Regions from separate parts of the Homo sapiens genome. Here all the other regions are linked to region 3. Evidence: promoter capture Hi-C in 16 types of primary human blood cells and fetal thymus (Javierre and others, 2016). All regions are on one chromosome and are shown on one strand. Each heading gives the region's core, a stretch centred on a gene start or on the middle of the fragment in contact. The rest is flanking DNA. Distances are from core to core; before and after follow the strand shown. Region 1 has its middle 160 kb from the start of OR4E1. Region 2 has its middle 180 kb from the start of OR4E1. Region 3 holds the start of MMP14 (matrix metallopeptidase 14). Region 4 has its middle 230 kb from the start of OR4E1.

What was found. Contacts are between HindIII fragments. The CHiCAGO score rates a contact against its expected background, and 5 or more counts as called.
Region 1: a fragment that was not itself captured here is called in contact with the fragment with the promoter of MMP14 in region 3 in 1 of 17 cell types (non-activated CD4 T cells); the score reaches 5.1 in non-activated CD4 T cells.
Region 2: a fragment that was not itself captured here is called in contact with the fragment with the promoter of MMP14 in region 3 in 1 of 17 cell types (naive CD8 T cells); the score reaches 5.1 in naive CD8 T cells.
Region 4: a fragment that was not itself captured here is called in contact with the fragment with the promoter of MMP14 in region 3 in 1 of 17 cell types (activated CD4 T cells); the score reaches 5.5 in activated CD4 T cells.

Annotation. Positions count from the first base shown.
Region 1 is chr14:21,834,239-21,838,546 of GRCh38, forward strand. It overlaps TRA. Among named protein-coding and RNA genes, the nearest start is that of OR4E1, 160 kb to the left of the region's middle. The HindIII fragment of the contact is 3,635 bases long and covers 755-4,308 here.
Region 2 is chr14:21,854,729-21,859,445 of GRCh38, forward strand. It overlaps TRA. Among named protein-coding and RNA genes, the nearest start is that of OR4E1, 180 kb to the left of the region's middle. The HindIII fragment of the contact is 632 bases long and covers 1,440-2,071 here.
Region 3 is chr14:22,834,285-22,838,920 of GRCh38, forward strand. MMP14 (matrix metallopeptidase 14) reads left to right here and starts at 2,301. Exons shown (of 10, transcript NM_004995.4): 1 at 2,301-2,641. The coding sequence starts at 2,534. MRPL52 (mitochondrial ribosomal protein L52) reads left to right here. Exons shown (of 5, transcript NM_180982.3): 5 at 1-753. The coding sequence ends at 37. RefSeq lists a silencer at 1,959-2,175. The HindIII fragment of the contact is 13,873 bases long and covers 1,089-4,636 here.
Region 4 is chr14:21,904,462-21,908,772 of GRCh38, forward strand. It overlaps TRA and the pseudogene TRAV8-5. Among named protein-coding and RNA genes, the nearest start is that of OR4E1, 230 kb to the left of the region's middle. The HindIII fragment of the contact is 2,683 bases long and covers 346-3,028 here.

The sequences.
Region 1 (4,308 bases), core at 1,322-3,821, 1.0 Mb before region 3:
ACTTTTCTCATGAGTGTGCCACTCCAGAAGCCGTTCTGATCAATTTGACAGACAGAGATTCCGAGACTAAATACATTGAATTTGCCTCAAACAATGTTTAAATAAGGCTACTATCAGCAGACCAATCTGCAACATTAACTTCACCCATTTAGTCAGCTGTGACAAAGTCCCAAAGTATAGATAACTAGGATATAATTTCTTATCCATTATACATGGAAGTTTAGATTGATACGCTAATCTTTGTTTTAATTCTCAAAAAGAGTCCAAAAAGTAGCCACCATTCCTAATGGAAAGATGTTCTGTCCCACCTATTCCCAGACATAAGCATAACCCAACAGGTTAATCCAGTTTGGAATTTATTGTTAAACTTGATTTGGATCAGCATTACATCACTTTTGTTGTAGGATCCTTGGGGTGTTGCTTTTCTGACCAGAAACCTCTGTGGTTGGTGGTGCCTTTACTCAAGTTTTGCATGGGCCCCCTGGACTCATTCCACTTACTTGGCCTGGAAGACTATGCTCAGCTCATGCTACCGGCCTGGATCTTATGCTTGCCAAGGGCGAGTCAGGCATGGAGCAGTAAGGGATGTGTGAGGAAGTGTGGGGTCTTGCCACTGCACAGTCAGACATGCTGGCTGCTGCAGTGAGGTGGGCAGTGCTGGCATGGGTGCCAGCTGTCTACAAGACTGAGGCTAGACCAGTTGCACTGCAAGCAGCATTGACTGCTGGCACTGGGGAACACGGTGGCACTCAAAAGCTTGGAGATGCCAGGAACCATAGGGTCCCAAAGAGGGGGGTCATAGCCCTGACTTGGGGAGCTCTCAGGTCTGGGCTTCCCACAGGGCCACAGCACTTCTCTCCTTTTTTTTACCCACAATGTGGCAAACACGGGACATGTTTCAGCCCTGTTTGTGGAACAGCTCTTTTAGCCCCACCATTTGATGGGTTCCAAGTTCTTGTCCTGCAACCAGGAAGAATGAGGTACACAGTCAAGTGGAGGGTGAGCAAGATGAAGTAGAGCTTTATTAAGTGATAGAACAGCTCAGAGGAGACCTGCATTGGGTAGCTTCTTTCCACAGCTAGGGTGTTCCAATGAGTGTTCAGCTCGTAGCAGAGAGGAGACCCTGGAGTGGGAAACTCCTCTCTGCAGGCAGGCTGTCCTGTTGTCTCTGTAGCTCTCAGCACAGAGGAGGCCCTGGGGTGGGTAGCTCCTCTCTGCAGCTGGTTGTCCCAGTGTCTGCAGCTCTCAATAGAGAGGAAGGCTTGTAGTGGTTAGCTCCTTTCTGCTGCTGGTCATCCTGAGGTCTGCTCAGCTCTGGCTGAGCCTGGGGCTTTTATGGGCCTCAGAAGGGAGGAAGTGCATGCCCAATTTATCCATGGGCAGCCATGGGCAGGCCCAGAAAAGGCACCACAAGTTCCCATTCCAGTCTGTGGGACTGGCAGCCTGACACCCAGCCTTCAGGCCCTCCTTGGCCTGAAGGTGTGACCTCACTGGGGACCCACCACTTCCACCCAGAAACCTGTCTGCCTCCTACTGTCATTCTTAGTGCCCAGATGGTAGGTGCCAAGGAGTGCCTTCAGGCCAGTGCCCCCTTGGCTTCCCTCTTATGCTTGTCAGTGCCCAAAATCTGGAGGGTGTCAAGGTGGCAGAGGGCTGGTGTGTGAACACTTCCCCTAGTGTGTGCACACTCTACTGTGCTGCAACAGTGCCTGGGCTTGGCCTCAACTTTGCTCTGAGATCAGAGTGGATGCTGACAACAAGGAGAAGCCAGGCAGTGAGAGTGGGTACTTCTGAGCCTGTGAAGGCAGGGAGGGCTTCCCAGGCCCTCAAGAGTACAGAGAAGCCTCGGTCCACAGCTGCAGTTTGGGAAGCTGTAGCTGCCCACAGAGGGAGGTTGAGGGGGCAATGCTCCTGCCTGCCCCATGGAGCAGAAGTCCTGGGTTTGCAGCCTTGACTTGGGTGGCTGCAGCTTCACTGAGAAGGGTGGGGCTCCTGCCTGCTCCTGGTTTCCCCAAGAGCATAGGGAGGCCTAGGTCTGCAGTCACGACTTGGGAAGCTGCAGCTGTGCCTGGAAGGGCAGGGTTCCCTCCTGCTCCTGGGCAGAGAAGACAGTGATGCCCCTGAAGCTGTGGCTTGGGCAGCTGCAGGGCACCTGGGGAGCTCCTGCTCCAACTCAGAAGGGGCAGGGCTCCTGCTTGTCCCTGGTTCCATGGAGTATGCAGCCCCAGCCATGCCTCCCTGCTGTGATAGTAGTGGCCACTCCAGATGGCCCGCTGCTGCCATCACTTTTGTTAAGCTATATGAGCAGTGCCATTGAGTATTTGCAACCTCTGTAGCCATTCATGGCATAACCCAAGACTTTTCAGACATCAGGAGAAGCATATACATTTGTATGAGTCAGATTGAGACAAAGTTGTACTGATTTCTATGTTTGTACACAGACAAGGATGAAGAATCTATGTTGGGAAGCTGCTATTGATGTATGTATTGCAGAAATTTTCAGGACAGGCCATATTCACAGGAGTTTTACTATTTCAAGGAATGTGGAAGAAGATGACAAACCAAGAGCAGATTGGATAGCCAGCTGCAGCTGCCGCTTGGCTCCAGCAGACCATATAATTGTCTTGCTAGGCTGTGGTGCTTGACCTAGAATACAAAGAGTGAATTAATTCTCCGCTCCTCCACCTCCCGGTCTAAGATTTTCCCTTCCTAGGTGCCAGTGTTATTGCTCTTTGTCCACCATCACAAAATCGGTTCATCCCATTCTAGTAGCTATAACTTTGCCTTTTTTTTGTAGTCAGTTCCTAGTCACACCAAAATCATTTGCCTAGAACAAATAGAAAGAGGAACAGGCATTTGTATGACATTTACAGAGATTCATCATAATTACCACCTTGGCCTTCCTGGAAAACTGAACGGGAACTTGTAAAGCTGTGCACTCAAATAAATGCTGGTTATCCTCATGATGTAAAATCATGTTTAACCAAGAAAAGAATATAGGTGGCTGAACTGGAATTCAATATTAATACCATTCTGACAATGTTGCTGCCTGGAGAGTGTACCAACCAGGCTGTTCTAAGGTCGCTGTTCGGAGAAAGAAAGAAGCATCATGCCTTTCACTTCTAGAATGTTAGAGGAGGTGTACTTTTTTCTATTACTGTTAGATACAGCTAAAAATTCTGGACATTATAGATGTTCCTTGAATTGAAATGAGATTACTTCCCAGTAAACTGATTGTAGTTTAAAATACCATAGGTATAAAATGCATTTAATACATCTTATATACTGGACATCATAAGATTTCCTATCCTATGTTAATCATGCTCAGAACACTTACATTAGCCTATGGTTGGGCAAAATCATCTAACACAAAGCCTATTTTATAACAAAGTGTTGAGTATCTCATCTAGTTTATTGAATAAAGTACCCAAAGAGAATAATAGAAAGGTTGTATTGGTACACAAAGTGCAGTTTGTTCTGATTGGGTATTGCTTTTGCACCATGAAAAAAATCATAAGTCAAGTCATCATTAAGTTAGGGACCATTTGTATATAAAATCAAAAGATAAAAAGTTTCTAAAAGATAGAGAGAAAAAGCCAGATTGTCTAAGAAATTTAGGACCTGAACAATGCTAGAACAGTGAGTTTCATGAGTTTCCTTTTGCCTCATACAAACCAGTGGCATCCAGGAGTAGCCAGTAACCTGGTAATGCCGGTGGGTACAGAAAAGAAATCCCAAAGAAATGCCGTTTTCTGTAGCCAAAGGACCAGGGAAAGGATTGACTATGAAGGCAGAAACTATAAGACCATAACCATTCTACTCTAGCCAAAGACCACAAAAAGTTTTATAGCAACCAAGCATACATTTAATCAACAAAAAGTTAACTGCAACGTAGCAGGAGAGATTTGTGATAGTGTAACTTTCTTTTGCTCCATCTTTCCATCACTGGCTTGAAAATAGTCTTTAAATGGCATCCGGCATTCCCAGTGTGGGTGTCTGGGGCTGGAGGAAGCAGAGTAGACCCGTTATCAAAGAATAGTGCCTGACTATGTTGACCTGTCAGGTGGTTTTCTGAAGGGCTAATTCAAAGGGCTTTCCTGTATTCATATAACTCAAAACCCTCTCAGAGTGGAGAAGAAGTGGCTATGCAGAGGAAATTTTAAAAAAAAATTGATAAAGGGACTCAGTAGCAGGAAGGAGAAAGAATCTGCAAATGTGAAGATAGGCCAATTGAAATTATTCAGTCTAAGAAGCGGAAGGGAAAAAAATTGAAGAGAGCTTAATAGACCTGCGGGACATTATAAAAAG
Region 2 (4,717 bases), core at 506-3,005, 980 kb before region 3:
TAACGTTATGCTTTGCCAGTAGAGGATCAGGGAGAAAAGATTTTGATTTTTGCTTTCTGTGTGCACATGCCACAGGTTCCTGCAGCATGAGAGGCTTCTCCAGCGTCCGGCTCCTGCAGTGCACCCACACCAGGTTCCTGCGCTGTACAGTGGCCAGCAGTGTCCTCCAGCACTTCCATTTTTGCGTGGTACTGCAGAACAGAGCCTGCAGTGAGACACCTTCCTGTATCCAGCTTTCCCCATATTCATCCCTAGATTCATGAATCGGCACCCTAGATTATGGTTTTCTGGTAAGTATGAGAGGGTGAATTTCTCTGTAGAAAATTCACAGCACAACAGTGACTTCTGTGTCATCTAGTGAGACACAGTTGTGCCTTTCCCAATAAGATCTGGGTCTCACCCCTGGGGGGTGGGTCTAGGGGTCCCTTCTTGGGGTGTTGTACCCAGCCCTAGGAGTAGGGACTGCACCTTATATCTGCTATTCCTACAGGAATAGGAATAGCAGAGTTTTCTTTTCTTTGTATTACCTATTTCCTTGTTACTCTAAATCCTGTTATAATTAATAATTTTTTATATTAATATTAAATTTTCCTATAATTATAAAAAGCATTTTCTGTTCAAATTATTATATGGTCTATCTTTCCTGATTGGACCAGATTTATACATGCACCAAGGATCTCAAGCCACTGAAGAGCATCTCCCCACCCAGTCACCTGACAAATCTAGTTGCTTGCTTGTTTTATTTATTGCTCATTTGTTTTATTTATTTATGGTTTATTATTTTACTTATTTATTGTTTTACTTATATGATTACAAGAAACTTTATGCAATAAAGAATTACATTAAGAAGAATTTGGAAATATGTTTTTATATTAATGAAATTAATTTTGATTTTTCACATTTTGTGCATGTTTGACACAAAATTTTATTATACCATTGAGGCAAATTATAATTCCTTTTAAATGTATTTTAGCTTACAACACAAATTGTCTTTCATTCACTAATGAGACTGTGTCTGAAGATTTTAAATTCCAAGTCATTTTTCATTCATCTAACTCTGTTAATTATCCTTATTTTTGATTTCTTTAAAATGGAGGGAAAAGACCATGATAACTTTAAAACAATCTGAAGACAGAATACTTCTAACACCCAGAAAGTTTTTGTGTGTGCCTTTCCAGTCAACCCACCTTCTGGAGGCAACAGATGTTCATATTTCTAGTATTACAGAGACTTTAACCGTTTTAAAACTTCGAATCAATGGGATTATTCAGTAGGAACTCTCTTCTGCCTGGTTTCTTTCACTCGTCATGTTCTGGAGGTTAATCCGTGTTCATTACCGTAATTGTTGAGAAGTTTCCTATTATATGAATAAAGCACAATTTATTTATTCATTTGGCTGTGCACACCATTGGCTGATTACAGAATCTTTTAGGGATTAAAGCTTTGGTAGCATTCTTTTTTTTTTAATTAGATTCAGGGGTTACATGAGCAAGTTTGTTACATGGGTTCACTGCGTGATGTTGAGGTTTGGGCTTCTAATGATCTTGTAGTGAACGTAGTAACCTATAGATAGTTTTGCAACACTTTACCCTCCCCCCATCTCCTCCCTTTTGGAATCCCCAGTGCTTATTGTTCTCATCTTTGTGTCCTTGTGTACTCAATGTTTAACTCCCACTTATAAGTGAGAACATTGTGTATTTGGTTTTCTGTTTCTGTGTTAATTCCCTTAGGATAATGGCCTCCAGCTTCATCCATGTTGCTGCAAAGGACATGATCTCATGCTTTTTATGGCTGTGTAGTATTTTGTGGTGTACATTTACCACATTTTCTTCATCCAGTCCACCACTGGTTGGAATTTGGTAGCATTCTTGGTGCAAGGTATAGGCTGTCCTAGATTTTTATATGCCGTTCAGGCAATGGTAGGGTGTGTCTCTGAAGTTCTATAGTTGAAATCCATATCTTAAATACTTTTATTTAAAAACCAATTCCTAAATTTCATTATGCTATTTAACATGTCACTAATTTTTCTAATAAAAACCCAATATCTGATATTTCCTGTGCTACTTATAAAAGCTTCAGGTATCATTCAAGCTGTGGGTAGCTGAACTGTAGTTTCCTCTGTTGTGGCCTTACGTGTTGATAACAACAGTAGCTGACCGCCTTGGAGTTTGCTTTCTTGACTAAGTGAATTGACTCTCCTTAGAGTTGAGACTTAAGTTAACCAGCTCATGCTTGATATTCTGTGGTTTCTGTTGAAAAGATTTAATGTAAATTATATAACCTAGCACTTTAGTATATTTATTCTTACTTGGTAACATATATATATATATATATATAAAATGAACAATATTTTGATAAGTGTTCCTGCAAATCCTGAAGATCTATAAGTCATGTAATTATAATCCTTGCTCAACAGTCATTCCAGAGAACTCATTTAATATTTAGAGGCATTTTGCTATATACAGTACATATGAAAATATTTTAAAGCTTGTTAGGTAACTTATAAAGGAAATTTCGCTGTTATTTAATATCACATATGCAGCACATCCAATACAAATTTCCAATCGTTTAAGCACAATAATAAAGTTGTCAAGATAATTAGAGGTCTGTACAGAATTCTCATGGGGATATCTAAGACAAGGGAGCACTTTTATTCAGGAAACAAGTGCACCAAAACATGAGTGTAAAAGGTAGAATGTTAAGATGCTGAAGATACTTTATATGTATATTTATGACTTCAAGTTGCTCTGTGTGATATATTTCATATAACTGGATATTAAAAATTTACCTTCACATTAATTTTCTAGAGCTGCCATGACAAATACCACAGACGGGGTGGCATAAGCAACAGAATCTGTTTTTCTCTCAATTCTGGAGATAGAAATCCAAGATTAAGGCATTGGCAGGGCAGGTTGTTATTGAGGCTTGCAGATGGTTGCCTTCTCACCGTGCCTTCAGGTGGTCTCTCCTCTCATGGTGCACATGTCTGTATCTGGATTTCCTTTCTTACAAGAACACCAATTATGTTGAGTTAGAGCCCAGCTATATAACCTCATTTTACCTTAATGACCTCTTTAAAGATCCTGTTTTCAAATACAGTTTCATTCTGATGTACTGGGGATAAGGGCTTCAACATGTAAATTTTGGATGAGACACGGTTTATTCTGTGGCAACCCTCCAGGGAAATAAATATCAAATTAATGAAGAAGACAATTAAAGCCTCTCTTGACACAACACTTTGCTAATTGCTGGCGCACACAATGATCATATATAATTTTGATGATGAATTTTCCCTGCTTTCTTTTGTGATTCTAGAGCAATTAGAAATGTGCAATAACAGATGCAGATACTTCCTAAATATTTCAAATTGTAAAGGAAGTAGAGAGTACAATGATAAAAATGTAAAAGCTATTATTTAGACTTGCCTTCTTTCTCTCTGCTACATTAGGATATGGAATTTTCTCATGTTAGGTTTGTCCTTTTCTGCAGCTAAATCTTAATTTCTTTTTGGTTTTCCATCTCAGATAGTTTTCCTTTCTTTCTCTACTCTTTTCTGTATGAATGTTGAGTTTTTTACCTTGTCTTTTTTTTCCTCTCTCTTGTCTCTGATCTCAACTTTGCCAGAGCTATTTTAGCAGACTAACTTGCTATTCTTATCTTGCACTACTCTTTTACTACCTAATCAGCAGAAGTGACATTTAAAAGAAGCGAAAAGGATTGAAATTCTTTTGGAAGTTGTTTATGGCAGGTGCAGTGGGTTAAGTAGATGAGGGAGGGGTGCTATAGTCCTTGAATACAGAGGCAGCAGGAAGAATCCCATCCTATATGCTCAGCTTTCTTGGGGCTTGTTGTCTGTTTTTTCAAGCAGTATGTGGCAAGATTTTTAATTTTGATTGAATCATAGTCTTTTTAAAAATATGTTTCGATTACTGATACATTTGGATTCATTTTAACGTTTTGGCTCTGCTCAGCATGCTCTTGATTTGTTCTTTCGTGTTTTAGTCTGTCTTCTGTTGCAGTGATAGTTTTCTTTTTTCTTTCTATTGTTTTAGAAAGTGTAAATTGTATTTTTTGTTCCTAAAAGTATCCTTATATTATATATGTATACATATATATAATTTTTAAATACCCAAAGTTGTTATTATTTTTTCCTGAAGTTATTCCGTAACATTTTTTCCTTGTATGTCCCCCTCTTTCTCCTTGGGTATATTTTTTTCTCCTTTTGACTTACTGTCTTTAGAATTACTTCTGTAGCTAATTGGAAGAAACTATACACATACTATATATATGAAGACAGTAATTTTAGAGTTTATCAAATTAGCCAATAAACTAGAGCTCCAATGCACACTAACAAAAGTAATAAAAAAGAAAACCATTCAACACAATAATGGGAACATGAATTCATTCCCTTCTTCCTCAGAGCCTTTGCCCGATCTTCCCTCTGCCCGGAGTGCTTTTCACTACTAGCCACACTGATGGTTCTTTCACTAGTTCCTAGTCTCTGCTCCTGAAGAAACATGAGCACATGTGAATAAAAAGAGGAATTCTTTAAAAGCTTTATTGCCATTTTACATTTTATGGTTAAAAAACAACATTTTAAGTGTTGATCAATAGGAGAAAGGCTGTATAAACTGAAGTATATCCCTAATATGATGCAGTATAGCAGAAGGCCCCATATGAATTAATACAATAAGACCTAAAGATTTATTATTGAGTT
Region 3 (4,636 bases), core at 1,051-3,550:
AGGGGCTTCACTGAAGAGCCCACTTCCAAGTCAATAAAAAGCAACTCCTGCCTCCCTTCCTCACCCTGTCTCTGGATTTCTTTTCTATCACCTAGATGCTTCATCCAGCCAGAAGATAGCCTTCACGTTCCCCATCTGTCTTCAGAGAAAAAGAGCTGGGACACCAAGAACAAGCTGTTAGATCACTGCCTGGGAGGCTTGGCTTAGTACTCTCATCTCTGGTTCCATTCCAGTTCAGCTAAGTCTTGCTTTAAAATTTTTACCTCCTAGCTGGGTGCGGTGGCTCACGCCTGTAATCCCAGCACTTTGGGAGGCTGAGGCGGGCAGATCACAAGATCAGGAGTTCGAGACCAGCCTGGCCAACCCAGCCTGGTCAACATGGTGAAACCCTGTCCCTACTAAAGATACAAACAATTAGCCGGGCGTGGTGGGGTGCGCTTGTAATCCCAGCTACTCAGGAGGCTGAGGCAGGAGAATCGCTTAAACTCGGGAGGTAGAGGTTGCAGTGAGCCAAGGTCACACCATTGCACTCCAACCTGGGCGACAGGGCGAGACTCCGTCTCAAAAAAAAAAAAAAATTTACCTCCTTTGCAGGCCATAGGACTAGCCCAACTATGAGAAATAGCTGTTCTGTGAACGTGAAAAGGGGACAGCAGTTTTCCCAGTTTTGGCCAGGCAGTCAAGCCTTTAACAGCTCATGCACAGTTTAGGCCATGTACAGCTGGCATCTAATAAATGTTTTCATGAAAAAGATTTTCTAGCCAAGGTCCCTTTTTTGGCAAGCATCTGGTGTCAGTCTTCCTAAGATTCAGATATGTGGTCCAGGAGGTTACCCCCACTGGGAAGGCTGATGTGGGAAGAATCATACCTGGGTGTTGCGTGTTCTGCCGAGAGTGGGGTCCTGAGGTCTCCATGGTTCTGAATGCATTCCAGAGATTGGTTGAAGAGGGGCCTGTACCTCCCAACCCCAGCTTGTGTAGGAAAGCCCTACATAAGGGCTCAGCCCTCAGTCACTGTGGGGTAGGTAGCTGTTTAATAACACACACCATATACCTCCCACAAACCTGGAGGCTCCACAGGACCTGAAAAGCTTTTCATTTTATTGATCATGAATCTGAGGGCAAAAGACCTTTGTTTTCATTACAATACTGAGCACTAGACTTCTATTCTTCTGCCACAGAAGTGCATCCCTAGGATTTCTGGAGCTTCCTACCTGACCTAATTTCTGTCCACCCTCCTCTATTCCTTCCTTTGCTTTCTTCTCCCTTCCTCCTCGCACTACCTCTGTCCTCTCTCACTGGCCAAATGCAATTCTTGGATCTTAGATTTCGCTGATAGTCTAGTTTTCTGTCTCCCACACTTTTCCTGCTTCTGTTGTGCTTCTTTTCCAGACCTGTCTAGTTCCCAACTCATCTGTCTCCCTTTCTCACGGTCAGCTTTATCCTGCCCTCTCCCTTCCCTACATACCTCCACCTTTTGTTCTGAGTCCAGTAAGTCCCTAAAGGAGATTATAACTCTTTAAGAATTGCCTCCTTTTTCAGTGTAGAGGTGGAACTAAACCCCAGAGTCCCAACTCCCAATCCCTTCTTTTACAATAATTTCACCCAACTTGATTTGCTTTCCCCCAGATCCCACGGCCTTGTACCCTTTTCCTCCCAGCGAGTTCCAATTAAAGGTGCAGCCACATTACAAATGACAATAAAGGAATCACCTTTGTCTTTCTACAAAGGTTGGAGCCACAGATCCGGTATGGTTGTGGGGTTTGTTGTTGGTAGTTGGGTTATAGTTTGGATTTTTTAGCAGCAGAGGGAGGGACATAGACAGTTGTCTACAGGGCCCAGAAGATAACCCCCTATTAGTAAACTGGCCCCTTCTCCCTCTGCAGGTCTCATGGGCATGGAAGAAGACCCCACCACCATCCCACACTCTGAGCTCCTCGTTGCCCCTAGCCACATAGCCCCCAATAATTCCCACCCTGAGGTGAGACAAATGCTGAATACCAGAGGAATCAAGCCACTCAGAATATGCTTATAGGGACAAAGTCTCCCACATCCCGTCCCCTGGATCCCCCTACAGCCCCCTGCTGTCCATCGCGGCCTCAACCCCTGCAGATGGCAGCCTGCACCACAAAAAGGCAACTTAGAGGTGTTTTTTTTTTTTTTCCTTCCAGTTCTTGGTTGTAATTGGATTCAGGCTAAAACAACCACGTCCCCAACCAGGAAAGGAGGGCACTGGGGCGGGGACGGAGGAGAGGCTGTGGGAGAAGGGAGGGACCAGAGGAGAGAGCGAGAGAGGGAACCAGACCCCAGTTCGCCGACTAAGCAGAAGAAAGATCAAAAACCGGAAAAGAGGAGAAGAGCAAACAGGCACTTTGAGGAACAATCCCCTTTAACTCCAAGCCGACAGCGGTCTAGGAATTCAAGTTCAGTGCCTACCGAAGACAAAGGCGCCCCGAGGGAGTGGCGGTGCGACCCCAGGGCGTGGGCCCGGCCGCGGAGCCCACACTGCCCGGCTGACCCGGTGGTCTCGGACCATGTCTCCCGCCCCAAGACCCCCCCGTTGTCTCCTGCTCCCCCTGCTCACGCTCGGCACCGCGCTCGCCTCCCTCGGCTCGGCCCAAAGCAGCAGCTTCAGCCCCGAAGTAAGTGAGCTTCCCGGCCCTTCCCGGAGTCGCGCCCGCCGGGAGGCGAGCCCGGGGGTCTCCTAGGGGACAGCCTCTATTCGGAGAGGAGGGCTTTTGGGATCTCCGCTGCTCAGGCCTGCAGGATTCCCCCTCCCTTTCTTTTTCCTCTTCGTCTCCAAACTTCCAGATCGATCCAACTTTTGCCCGCTTCCAACCAGCTGCCCCCACCCCCTGCGCCGCCGACTCTCCTTCCCATTCCTTCTTTTTTCCCAGTCCTTGGAAGAACTTTACAACTGGGGCGAACTCCCCCTTCCCCGATTCCCTTGGGCTCTGCTCTCAGCTCTGGAACCGCCTGATAAACATTTGGACTCCGCTCAAACCCCGCGCTGTCCCGGCTCCTCGTCATGCGCGAGAGTTTGTTGTTTCTTCGACTTCCCAGCTCTCCAGCGCTCTCCCGCCGGCGCGCCCTCCGATGGGCGCTTCGGCCTCCCCGGGTGGCCCAGGCCTTCAGCGGACGAGTCTGCGGCCAGGTGGGGGTCGAGGGTGGACGGCCGAGCGTCCAGGGCCACAGCCCCCGTCTCCCCGAGAGGACCCCGCTGTGTCCCTACCCGCATCCCTGGCGTCGAGGGTCGCAGCGCCGGCGCGCTGGCCGCGTTTCCGTACACACAAAGCTCTCCTTGTGAGCCGGGCGATCGGCCGGGTCGCTGCCTCCCCCTATCCCCACCCGCGTCGGCGCCTTCAGGCCCTTTTTGTTGTTAATAGTTTTTCTGTGTTAATTGCAGGGAGCCTGGGGGCGTCGCTTGGGGAATGGGGAGAGGGTCTGGTCCGGGGTGCCCTCACGTCGGGGCTGGCTCGGGCGCCCCCCACCCTCACCCCGGCCCAGACGGTGGCCCACCGGGCCCCAGAGGAAGCTGCGTGGGAGTTGTCTGAGGAGGTTTTTCCTCTCTCTCTCTTATTTTGGGGTGAAGGTGGGAGACGGATTTAATGAGCTTCTTATTTTGGGCCATCTCAACCCACTCAGCCTGGCAAGGGCCTGGGTGCGGTTGGGAGGGGCCAGGAAGGGCCCTAGAAGGGGGATGGGATATGGGTTTGGCTTCTCCTCCTTGGTCCCACCCCGGAGAAAACTCTTTGGAAAGAATACTGTCTTCTCTCTGCGTCCCTGAAAGGGTCTGGGGCCGACTGGAAAAGTATGGCCCCAGGAATCGGGGTGGAAGACGAAACGTGGAGTGCTCAGAGACCAGGGAGAGTAAAAACCTGCCCTGGTGCTGGAGGCTGAGCCTGACTGTCCGGGAGGAGTCGTCCTCTTCCCAGGCCTAGAGTCCTCTGAGACCTGAAAGGGAGCGCCCCTAACAAAACGAGCCTGAGCATCTGGGGAGCTGCCGACCGCCAACTTCACTGCCTTACCTTTTTTCCCTCCCCTGCTTTGCTGGGTCCCCCAGGGGAGGGGCGGCTGCCCTGGCTCCGTTTTAATTGGGTCATGGGCGGTCCCAGTGCCAGAACCACCATTTGCTTCTGGGCCCAGGAAGGGAGGGAGGAGCAGCCCCAGAGGCTAGGATCCAGGGCCTACTGCAGAGCTGGAGGTCCCCCCACCCTCCCCTGGACCCCTAAGCCAAGGTGGGAGGTGTTCCGTTGACTTTCTCCTAGGGGATACCTTGCATCTCTCTCATTCGCAAAGACAAAGCCAGCCGACTGGGTTCTTTGACCCAACATAGTTGCTTTTTTCTCCAGGCCAATGTGGAGGGAAAGCTGGGGTGGTGCAGGCCTCATGCAGCTGGGTCCCTCCTACCAGGCCTCCAGAGTCCTGCACCAGCTCCAGGACAGCCCTCTCCTCCCCATGGCCTGTCTGGCGCTGGGCCCTTCCTCCCACCCAGCCGCAGACACAAGAGTCCTCTCTTCTGTGGTTTCGACCTCATAGTCTCTGTGAGGAGAGAAACTTGCCTAGGCCTGGGGGGAGGAGAGGGATGGGGGCACTTCCTTTCCAGGCCTTGCGGCTCTCTTGACTCCAGGGAAGTC
Region 4 (4,311 bases), core at 437-2,936, 930 kb before region 3:
TACTTTTCAGGAGACACTCTGGTTCAAGGCATTGAAGGCTTTGAAGCTGAATTTAAGAGGAGTCAATCTTCCTTCAACCTGAGGAGACCCTCTGTGCATTGGAGTGATGCTGCTGAGTACTTCTGTGCTGCAGGTACCACAGTGCCTGGGTCTGCAGGGGAGCTGAACACAAACTGCCTATGCTAGAGAAGTTTTCAGAGACTCAATGTATCTTCCTGTGGCATTTTCAAAGATCTCTTATTTTTATGATGGTGAGTGAGGCAAAGAGAGCTGAGCACATCCAGCCATTTCTATATAATTCTGCAATTCCTGCTATGTCCCATGTCAGATAAACTTTGTTTTAGAAGCTTTTTGTTAATTGAAGAAACTGCATAATAGGAAATAGTATTCTAGAATGATGGAGGAGACATACTTCTTATCACCTAACAATCAGGTTCTCAAGGACCTTTCCTTGACTGTGACTGCATTAAGTGGTTGACTATGGGAATTTTGATATGGTCTAGGAGAACCTTGGTTTTCATTTATCATTTAATCTCTCAACTAACCCAGAAAACAAAACATAAGTTTCTCATGTTCTTACCTTGCAAGTTGCATCCTTGAGCTGGTCATTCACAGGATATTTTCTTAGAATTTATTTTTCTGGCTCTAACTGCGCAATTCAGATTTCAGGATATTTTGTCTCATACCTCTATTTAGGAGGAATTATGAGAAATTGTTAGCTAACAGTGAAAGTTTCATTAGAATCACGAAGGACTTAGAAAATTGTCACAGTGATGTGAGTTCTGGCAACTAGGAATAGCACACAAGGAGAATGAAGATTTAGAATTCATCAGTGTTTCTCCAAAGACTTTTTCAGTTATAAAAATAGCTTCTATTCTATTGGTATATTAATTATGCAAATCTACATTGTAAGTTTGTCTATGGAATTCCATTCATCTCTTCTAGCTACTGACACTTTTACTTGTTGCTTTCACTCTGTTGTTACATGGTTTCACTATTGAAATATTAAAGATTGATTCTCTTTTTTGAGATAGAGTTTTACTCTTTCACCTAGGCTGGAATGCAGTGGCATGATCATAGCTCACTGCAGCCTTGACCCATGCCCCCAGGCTCAAGCAATTCTCCCACCTCAGTCAGCTTCCTGAGTAGCTGAGACTACAGGTGTGCACCACCATGCCTGGCTAATTTTTTTTTTAATTTTTATTTTTAGTGGAGACAAGATCTCACTATGTTGCCCAGGCTGGTTTCAAACTCCTGAGCTCAAGCAATCCTGCAACCTCAGCCCCCCAAAGTACTAGGATTACAAGCATGAGCCACTGTACCTGGCCAAAGATTGATTCTTATATAGTAACATTTTGATAATCTGTCATGTGGTAAGTTTTGCAATGCCAAGCTCTGCTAGAAATACGGATAAGAGTTACAATGGTACTGGATTCCAGGCGGCTGCTGGAAAGTATAAATATGTGACTTTCTTATGTCTAGAATGGAAAGAACTGTATAAGAAGATTTTATACTCCTTGTCTGCTTGCTGCCTCGGAGGATAACCAGTGCTTCGGAGGAAAAGTAGAAGGAGAAGGAGAGAGCTCTTTAGCTGCCATTTAGCTCACACTATAAATGTCTAAGAGGGTAGGTGCATAGGGACCCTGAAAATATAGATCGAATAAGTAAATTGTGGCCAATGGCACTCCTTAGCCAAATAGTGAACCAAGATATCAACAGTATTTTTTAGGATGTAGTGTTATGAGTACATGTGATAAATATGTTTAAGCGATTTCTGGAATGCTGTGAGGAAGGTGAATGGAGTGTCAGATATATAAAATTATGAAAAAGAAATGTATGCTCATTTAATGTTCCTGCCTCAGTCCCTTCCTTCTTTTCTGTTTTTGGACCACACTCTCATCTACCACTGATAAGGCAAATAATTTCAAGTGACTCATTGTCATCAGCTCAGCCACACTGCCCAAAGGTACTTGTCATAGTATCATGAGCACTTCATGCAGATCGATTTGAGAAAGAACTGCCCGTTTCTTTTGATTCTGATCTCAAACTGAATATTAAAGAAAAATAAATTCCATACCAAGGACCCTGAGCAGCTGGGAGAGCATTCCCCATCTCCCCTACCTCACCTCTGCCTGAAAAATCAAAGTAATCTTCCTTCCTTCTATTAATAATTTGTTGCTTTTATATGAGTACGTGATTTGTAGGAGAAACTTTCCAAAATAAGGAATTATATTAAGAAAGTGGAGATTCTGAGTTATTTTATCAATGATATCAATCATTCTGACTTTTCAGAAAGAATTCTGACTTTTCATGAAATTAACTGATCTTACCACATATTCCATCACCGAGAAGCAGCTGCCCTAATTGAAAGGCGGAACACTTTACTGAAGACCAAGCTAGAGCCCTGACTGGGAGACAACAGCATGTATGCTAAACATTTTCTTCTCTCCCTACATCGTATTTTTTATCTGATATACAAGCTGTTGGAAACAAACTTTATAATTTAGTGTAAAGGTAACAGAATTTTCAGGCTGGGTGAGGTGGCTCACAGCTGTAATTTCAGCACGGTGGGAGGTTTAGGTAGGAGGATCACTTGAGGCAAGGATTTCAAGACCAGCCTGGGCAACATAGCAAGACCACATCTCTACAAACAATTAAAAAAATTAGCCAGGCATGGTGGTGCCCACCTGTAGTCCTAGCTACTCAGGAGGATTGCGTGGGCCCAGGAGTTCAAAGTTACACTGAGCTGTGATCATGACACTGCCCTCTAGCCTGGATGCCAGAGCAAGATCCTGCTTTTAAAAAAAACTTAGGAAGGACTGTCACTGAATTTGAAGAATTATTAATATAATCAGTGATGAAGTCAATGACTTTTGGGATTGTGCATCTTCTCATTTTGGAGAAAGGATGAAAAGTTCTTCAGTTGCAAGATGGAGTTCTGTATCTTGAAGGAGATAGAGGAATAGAATTATTTTGTTGTTGTACATGTTTCAAATGTTTGTAGAAGAATGTGTGTGTTGCATAGGGAAGCTTGAAGTAGTTGAAGGTATCGATTTATTGACTCTCAGCTCCAAATTCACTCCTTGCCTCTTCTGTGAAGGTGAATCTGGAACCTTCGACCATTTTTCTTTGCCAGTTGACACAATGTTAAGCTTTGTAGTAGAGAGTCAGGAAGAAAAAGTTTTGCTTTCTGCTTTCCATGTGCTCACTCATCAGGATCCTGCACCATGGGAGGCACCTGCAGTGCACAGTGCCCTGCAGTTTCCTCCAGAACCCCCCCATTTTAGGGCGATTCTGTGAAAGAGATCCTGCAGTGAGACACCTCCCTGTGAACAGCTTTCCCCAGTGTCCTAGAGGATGATTTTCTGCCATGTTCTAGAGGGTGAATTTCTAGCAAGTTCTGCTGGGACAGCACCACAGCAACTTCCCTTTCATCCAGTGAGCCACAGCTGTTTCTTTTCAATAAGATCTGGGTCTCAGCCCTGAGGGTGGGGCTACAGGCCTCTTCCCTGGTTATCCTACCCTGCCCTAGGAGTAGAGGCTGCACCTTATGTCTGCTATTCCTACAGGAATAGGAATAGCAGAATTTCTTTTCTTCATATTATTCATTCTCTTGTTACTCTAATACTCTGTTTATTAATCCTTAAATTTTTTCTGTTGAAATTCTATGGTTTCTCTTTCCTGATTGGACTCGACTTAGACATGCACCAAGGACTTCAAGCAACTGGAGAGCATCTTCCATCTCCCCGCCCACTCCTGCCTGAGATATCAAAGTAGTTTTCTTGTTTTATTTCTCTATTGATTTGTTTTGCCTGCTTATTGTTTTATTTACATTGTTGTTATATAATTATGAGAAAATTTTACAATAATTTTATTAAGAATTTGGAAATATTGTTAATATATTAATAAAATTAATTTTACTATTAAAATTTTTGTGCACATTATACACAGAATGTTATTATACCATTGGTGCAAATTGAAATCAATTTTAAAAGGTTTAGCATACTGCACAAATAGGCATTAATTCACCTATGAGGATGTGTCTGGAGATCGTAATTCTAAGTCATTTTTCTTGCATGTAACTCTCTCAATACATCATTATTTTTTGATTTTCTATTTCCTTCAGATGGAGGAAGAAGACAATGATAATTGCAAAACTATCTGTAGACAGAATATTTCTGTCACCCCAGAAGGTTTTATGTGTGCCTTTCTAGTCAACTCACCTTCTGGAGGCAATAGATGTTCTTATTTCTATCACCTTAGATTTACTTTACCCATTGTAGACTTCAAATCAATGGAATCATACAGTAG